Regions from separate parts of the Homo sapiens genome. Here all the other regions are linked to region 1. Evidence: promoter capture Hi-C in 16 types of primary human blood cells and fetal thymus (Javierre and others, 2016). All regions are on one chromosome and are shown on one strand. The core of a region is centred on a gene start or on the middle of the fragment in contact, and the rest is flanking DNA. Distances in the headings are between cores, read along the strand shown.

Evidence for each region. The method cuts DNA at HindIII sites, captures the fragments that hold promoters and counts their contacts. A CHiCAGO score of 5 or more calls a contact.
Region 2: a fragment that was not itself captured here is called in contact with the fragment with the promoter of LINC02054 in region 1 in 10 of 17 cell types (non-activated CD4 T cells, M0 macrophages, naive CD4 T cells and 7 more); the score reaches 8.8 in non-activated CD4 T cells.
Region 3: a contact is called between a fragment that was not itself captured here and the fragment with the promoter of LINC02054 in region 1, in 1 of 17 cell types (M2 macrophages). The highest score is 5.3, in M2 macrophages.

The regions. Positions count from the first base shown.
Region 1 is chr3:184,400,241-184,402,837 of GRCh38, reverse strand. It overlaps LINC02054 (long intergenic non-protein coding RNA 2054), which reads right to left and starts at 1,301. Exons shown (of 4, transcript NR_161199.1): 1 at 1,153-1,301. The HindIII fragment of the contact is 17,052 bases long and covers 1-2,597 here.
Region 2 is chr3:184,781,698-184,784,294 of GRCh38, reverse strand. No RefSeq gene overlaps it. Among named protein-coding and RNA genes, the nearest start is that of LINC02069, 9.8 kb to the right of the region's middle. The HindIII fragment of the contact is 4,924 bases long and covers 1-2,597 here.
Region 3 is chr3:184,764,636-184,767,232 of GRCh38, reverse strand. It overlaps LINC02069 (long intergenic non-protein coding RNA 2069), which reads left to right. Exons shown (of 3, transcript NR_110043.1): 2 at 1,764-1,913. Among named protein-coding and RNA genes, the nearest start is that of LINC02069, 7.2 kb to the left of the region's middle. The HindIII fragment of the contact is 1,632 bases long and covers 502-2,133 here.

The DNA.
Region 1 (2,597 bases), core at 52-2,551:
CCAGGCATGGTGGCACATGCCTGTAATCCCAGCTACTCAGGAGGCTGGGACGGGAGAATAGCTTGAACCTGGGAGGCAGAGGCTGCAGTGAGCTGAGATTGTGCCGTTGCACTCTAGCCTTGGCGACAGAGTGAGACTCCATCTCAAAAAAAAAAATAAATAAATAAAAATAAGTATATGTATTGAAGACAAAATAAAATGAAAAAGTAACAATATAACAATAAATAAATAATGATACAGCATAATAATTTACATAGTTTTACAATGTATTAGGTACTATAAGTAGAGAGGATTTAAAGTATATGGAGGATAGGTGTAGGTTATATGCAAATACTGTGCCATTTTATATCAGAGACTTGAACATCCTTGGATTTTGACATCTTCGGGGATCCTGGAACCAATCCCTCATGGATACTAAGGAATGACTGTACATATAATGGAATATTATTTAGCCTTAAAAAGGAATGAGATTCTGATGCATATTACTACATGAATGAACCTCGAAAATATTATGCTAAGCGAAATAAACTCAACACAAATGACAAATATTGTATGATTCTACTTATATAAGATGTCTAGGATAGAGAATAAGCAAATGTGTAGAGACAGAAAGTAGAATCAAGGTTATAGAGGTTACCAGGGGCTGGAGGAGGTAGGGTGAGAAGTTATTATTTAATGGGTACAGAGTTTCTGTTTGGATCTCGGCTCACTGCAACCTCCGCCTCCCGGGTTCAAGCAATTCTCTGCCTCAGCCTCCCAAGTAGCTGGGATTACAGGCACCCACCACCACACCCAGCTAATTTTTGTATTTTTAGTAGAGACGGAGTTTCACCATCTTGGCCATGCTAGTCTTGAACTCCTGACCTCATGATCCACCCACCTCGGCCTCCCAAAGTGCTGGGATAACAGGCGTGAGCCACCACACCCAGCCTTAAAATGTAAATTTTATGTTATATATATTTTACCAAGAAAGAGAAATTTCACTTAATTCATATCTTGAAAAATATTAAAGAAGACCTATAAACACAGCCCAGAATGTTAGAATCTCTTTGCTCTCATTCCACTCCCCCTCACCCACACATGCCTCTGAAGACTTCTCCTCCACACCTACCCACCCCCTCCAGCCCTACAGCCCTCACCGCTGTACCCCACCTCTCTTCTCTCACTCTTAATCAGGTAGATTGACAGCCTCATTCCCAGCAAGAATGTTTCCTCTCTCGGGTGGGAAAGGAGGGAAGAGGCTGGCTCCAGAAGATTCCCTTTGACAGGCTGCCAAAGGTAGAAAGGCTGTGGTCATGCCCACAGTAATAGTTATTGTCGCATCACATAATAGAAGCCGGAGCACTGAGTCCCCTCCACCTTTTCATGGGCATGGGGAGCATTTCACCCCTCCCTAATGGTTCTCACACCCATTGTCAGATTCAATTACAGTGACGGCATTCAGTGCCAACTATACGCCAAGCATGTACATACGTTTTCTATGGTCCTTGTGACAATCATGCAGGTAACCATCATTAAGACCATGTTGCAGCAAACTGAGGCTCAGGCATGGCAAATGCCTTGCCAAAGTCACACAGCTAACAAGTGTCATTCTCGGTTCATACCACTCTACTAAACTGCTGCCAGTTCAAGGCTGGCCGTATTTCCGGGAAGTCGTCACAAAACTGAGGTGATGGTGGTCAAGAACCAAGTCACTAGCAAAGCACACTTCCCTGCCTCCCTTCTTCTCACAATGTCTACAGAGCCCACATCTACTCAGCTGAGTCTTCTTGGCAACCAAAATGAATACACACATTGCAAACTGTTAAGGTAACCACAGCTATATGGAGAGAGGGCGTCCAGCCTTGTAGCAACTTTGGACTGATCCTCAGGAGCGACCCCTCCTCCCTGGGAGTCACATCTCAGACTCCTTCTGGCTGTTGCCACCTCTTGGAAAATGAACAGGGAGCTGGAGCTGGAGCTGGGAGCTGCTCCCAACTGCAGTTCATTTGGGGTGTCCAAACTCACTTCTCACCAAGGCGCAGTTGTGAAGTATCTGCTTTGCCATCAGCTGGATGGGGCTCAGGCTGTGGAGTTTTAGTGTCACCCCAGCCTCTGGGTCTTCATCCAGATGTGCAAAGAGAACAGCCACCTGGCATCGTTTCTCTTTTCTTTTTTCTTTTTCTTTCTTTCTTTTTTTTTTTTTTTTTGAGAAGGAGTCTTGCCCTGTCACCCCAGAGTGCAGTGGTGCAATCTCAGCTTACTGCAACCTCCACCTCCCGGTTTCAAGCTATTCTCCTGCCTCAACCTCCCAAGTAGCTGGGATTACAGGCACCTGCCACCACGCCCCACTAATTTTTGTATTTTCAGTAGAGACAGGGTCTCGCCATGTTGGCCAGGCTGGTCTCGAACTCCTGACCTCAAGTGATCCACCCACCTCAGCCTCCCAAAGTGCTGGGATTATAGGATTGAGCCACTATGCCTGGCCTAGCATCGTTTCTCTTAAAATTCTGACAATCTATGGCAAAACTTATATGTGCGGTAATAGAGCCAAGCAAGGAAAAGAGATATAAAACTATAAACACAAGGCAAACTCAACAAAACACACAGAAAGAAGA
Region 2 (2,597 bases), core at 42-2,541, 380 kb before region 1:
GCTATTTATTTTTTGAGAAGGAGTCTCACTCTGTCGCCCAGGCTGGAGTGCAGTGGCACGATCTCGGCTCACTGCAACCTCCACCTCCCAGGTTCAAGAGATTCTCCTGCCTCAGACTCCCAAGTAGCTGGGATTACAGGCGCCCACCACTATGTCCAGCTAATTTTTTGTATTTTTTTTTTTTAGTAGGGACAGGGTTTCACCATGTTTGTCAGGCTGGTCTCAAACTCCTGACCTTGTGATCTGCCCACCTCGGCCTCCCAAAGTGCTAGGATTATAGGCATGAGGCACTGTGCCCGGCCTTATTTATTCTTTTCTTTCTTTTCTTTTTCTTTTTTTTTTTTTGAGATGGAGTCTTGTTCTGTCCCCCAGGCTGGAGTGCAGTGGTGCTATCTCGGCTCACCACAACCTCCGCCTCCCAGGTTCAAGTGAGTCTCCTGCCTCAGCCTCCCGAGTAGCTGGGACTATAGGCGCACGCCATCACACCTGGCTAATTTTTGTATTTTTAGTAGAGACAGTGTTTCACCATGTTGGCCAGGCTGGTCTCAAACTCCTGACCTCAGGTGATCCATCTGCCTTGGCCTCCCAGTGTGCTGGGATTACAGGAGTGAGCCACCATACCGGGCCTGTTCTTTTATTTCTATGCCATACACGGCTAGGCTAGGTCCTTACATCTCATGCGGGACTCACAGCCAAAACCTCCTAACTGACCTTCCTGACTGGTCCTCCCCCATCCTCCAGTTTATTCTATATATGACTAATGTTCCTAAAATCCTATTTTCACCCAAACTTTCTTTGGCATGGAAGCCTCCTGCTGGGTCCTGCTCAGGGACACAGATCTGCTTCCTTCGCCCAGCACTTACGCCTCCTTTGATCCGGCACCACCATCTCTCCATCCTCACCTCCTACTCCTCCTTTCCAGACACCCTCCCTTTGAGCAGACCAACCCCGGGCCTCCCTGAACAGCCAGACTTGCTCCCATTGCCTTAGGCTTTGTCTCTGCCCTCCTCTCCGAGGGAAGTCTGCCTCTGCCCTCCCTGTGTCCAGCTCAGCTGAAAATCCCCACTGCCCGTGAACTCCTGACCACACAGGGCTTTCCCTTCCTCCAGCACCTCCTGGCCACTCTGTTCGTTGCGGAGTACCTTTGGAGCTGGGACTCTAGGGTGTCTGCCTGGGAGAAACTTAGAAACAGCAATCTGGTTGGAAGCAGGGCCAGGGACTTGTCTCAAAGCTGTGGTAGAATTCAACTGATTTATCTTATTTTTATTTTTTGAGATGGAGTCTTGCTCTGTCACCCAGGCTGGAGTGCAGTGGTGCCATCTTGGCTCACTGCAACCTCTGCTTCCTGGGTTCAAGCGATTCTCGTGCCTCAGCCTCTAGAGTAGCTGGAATTACAGGCGCCTGCCACCATGCACAGCTAACTTTTGTATTTTTAGTAGAGACGGGGTTTCACTGTCTTGGCCAGGCTGGTGTCGAACTCCTGAACTCAGGTGATCCACCTGCCTTGGCCTCTCAAAGTGCTGGGATTACAGGCGTGAGCCACCACACTCGGCCTTCATCTGATGCTTTACAGTAATTTTTCTAAAGGGGCTTGTACTCACATTTTCCATAAGAGTAAGAAGACATCCCCCGCCCATGTCAAAAACATGATTTTTAGTTGTTTTTTTGAGGGGGGGAGGCGGGGGTGATTCATGAAGATGAGGGGCATAAAACATACCTCTCCAAGCCACTCCTTGGCACTGCCACTGCCCTTGCACTATTCAAGGAAGTGGAACAGACATGCTGAAACAAGTCCTTTGCATATAAAAGCATGATATACAAAGTGCAACTCCCAGGTGTCAGAATTATTTGCAGAGAGGCCAGGCGCGGTGGCTCACACCTGTAATCCCAACACTTTGGGAGGCCAAGGCGAGTGGATCGCTTGAGGTCAGGAGTTCGAGACCAGCCTGGCCAACATGGTGAAACCCTGTCTCTACTAAAAATATAAAAATTAGCTGGGCCTGGTGGCTTGCATCTGTACTCCCAGCTACTTGGGATGCTGAGGCAGGAGAAATGCTTGAACCCAGGAGACAGAGGTTGCCGTGAACTGAGATCATGCCACTGCACTCCAGCCTGGGTGACAGAGCAAGACTCCATCTCAAAAAAAAAAAAAAAGAATTATTTGCAGAGTTATAAGAGTCCAAGTTTTTGACTCATTTATTTGCCTCACATTCTGCCATGTTATTTGATATTCCAGACATCTTAGGAGGTCTCCGCCTGTGCTTTCCCAGTGCAGCAACCCTCTGGGATTAGCGGGCAAGCTCATTAGGAATGTGCAGCCCTCTGCCCCTCCCACTTCTCCAACTGATCCTGTACCAGGTCCTCTAGGGCCTCCTCCGCTGCATTCTCCTCCTCACCTTGAGGTAGAGGTCGCCTGACTTTACAGGGCCACCCTCCCTTCTACTTCCTTTATTCCCACTTGAGACAATCTCAGACCTTATCTTATCCTCTAGATCCTCAAAATCATTTTTCCTTTGTCCATTTTCCAGTTGTGTCTCTTGCCTTAAATCTCTAACAACAAGGTAGCAATGAATGAAGGAATGAATGCCGCCTCTTGC
Region 3 (2,597 bases), core at 68-2,567, 360 kb before region 1:
CTGGCTCTCTGTTCATTGGCAGAACTGAAGTGATTGACACACTCTAAACCTAGTAAGTGTCTCATCCCTTTCTGACATACAATTGTTTATGTAGCTGTGCTCACTCCTCATACCAACACACACACACGCACACACACACACACGTACAGACACACACACGCACACACATGCCCACAAGTGGTATTGCCGAATCCTGCAGTCTTTGTAGTTTCACAAACATCCAAATCTTGACACCACTGCCACAACACACAGAGAACTGCTTGTGTGGAGACCTGTATGCCAGGTGCTGTGAGACATCCCAGGAGGGAGAAGCTCATTTTCCAATGATGGAATCAAGGAGGGCTTCATGAGAGAGGTGACATTTGTCATGGGCTTTGAAGGCTGCATAGAAATCCAGCAGGCAGAGGGGTGGGAGTGGCTTTCCAAGCCAAGGGAACTGTGGAGTTGGGAAAACACAAAGCATGTCTAGGCAAATCCTCCAGTCTAACTGAAGATAAAGCTTCAAGAGGAGGATGAGAGGGAGGAGCCAAGGGTGGGAAGGTAGTTTGTGACTTGACTGGGTGGGGCCTTGAGTGCCAAGCTGAGGCCAGAAGTAATGAGATTCTACTGACAATTTCTGAGAGGTGGAGGGAGAGCTTTTGGAAGGTCAGTCATGGAGATGATTGAATGAAAAAGATACTGAGGTCAGGCCAGACGCGGTGCCTCATGCCTGTAATCCCAGCACTTTGGGAGGCCAAGGTGGGTGGATCATATGAGGTGAGGAGTTCGAGACCAGCCTGGCCAACATGACAAAACCTTGTCTCTACTAAAAATAGAAAAGGTAACTGAGAGTGGTGGCACACACCTGTAGTCCCAGCTATTCGGGAGGCTGAGCTAGGAGAATCGCTTGAACCCAGGAGGCAGAAGTTCTAGTGAGCCGAGATCACGGTGCTGCACTCCATCCTGGGAGACAGAGCAAGACTCCATCTCAAAAAAAAAAAAAAAAAAAAAAAAAAAGGAAAGATACTGAGGTCAGAAAAACAGTGAGGAGGCCGTGGTAACAGACAGAGCTAGCAAGGACCCCCCTCCTGGAGAGGGGATTGGTAGACCAGGAGAACAGGAGGAGTCTCAGGATAAGAATGTGAGCATCCACCCCTTCCAGATCACCACTACCACGAAAACCTTCAGGGGCAGCTGTGCACATACCCCCAGCTCATCATCTGAGAACGGGTGCCAAGTGAACTCCATCTCCAGAAATTGTTTGGGGAAGTGAAAGAGGAAACCGAACTCAAAATAAGGGTGCCTGACTCACTGTCTCTCAGTGACCATGTGCAGAAAAATCCTCTGAGCCTGCCACCAGCCACCTCCTCTGTCCACACCTTACTTCACAGGAATTCAGACACCAAGAGGGAGTCCCACACACGAAACACCTGGAGACGTGAAGAAACAGACTCAGCCCTACCTCCCTCCTCCCTCGCTGCGAGGTCTTGGGCAATCACTGACATATTTCCGGGCCTCAGTTTTCTCATCTATAAAATGATAATAATAACCAGCACTACCCATTTGTGGGACTTTTATGAGATCAAATAGCCCAATAAACTCGAAAATGCTTAAAGCTCTTTGGAAGAAATGCAAGTGTAATTGTTGAAGTTGTTATGTCATTGGATATTACTATCGCCACTACCGCTATAAACTTGCATATCTCTTTTCTCTGAAGAGGTCAAATGCTGTTCATGGTGTTCTTCTTTCATGAATAATTTCCAAACACCTCCTCTTGTTTACAGGTGGGCCCTACACGAGAAGGTTCCACAGATACTGCCTGCCTAAAGTGGATCTTGAGTCAGATCCTACGAAAGCCAGAAGGAGGGCATGGCTGAGAGTACCTCGGAGAGGCAGAAAAAGGGGAGCTGACTCAACACTGCTCTGTTGGGAAGGTGCGGTGTCCCGGGGAGGGAAAGGCAGGTGACTCAAGGTGAAACTTTCTGGACACAGAGGAGCTGGGATCTCTCATCCAATTCATGCAAATCCTTGGCTGCCTCAACCCAGATCCCACCCCTCCCCATACGAGGCTACCTTCTGGTCTCACTGCCTTGAAATCTAACAGTGCAGCCAACGTGACTCACCAACCATGTGGCTTGCAAACATCACTAAGCTTGTCTCATTTTCCTCATCTGTAAAATGGTTTAATAATCTCTGAGCTGCCTGCCTTCCAGGGCTGATGTGGGGAGGAGGAACCCATGGGCTGAGGATGTAAGAATGCTTTGGTGACTATGAGGTGTTGTATCAAGGTAAAGGGTTGTTGAGGGAATGTTTTAAGATGATTTCTGGGTCAGGCGCGGTGGCTCACACCTGTAATTCCAGAACTTTGGGAGGCCAAGGCAGGTAGATCACCTGAGGTCAGGGGTTCGAGACCAGCCTGGCCAACATGGTGAAACCCTGTCTCTACTAAAAATACAAAAAATTAGCCAGGCGTGGTGGCAGGCACCTATGATCCCAGCTACTCGGCAAGCTGAAGCAGGAGAATTCCTTGAACCCGAGAGGCAGAGGTTGCAGTGAGCCAAGATCGCGCCATTGCAATCCAGCCTGGGCAACAGAGTGAGACTCCGTCTCAAAAAAAA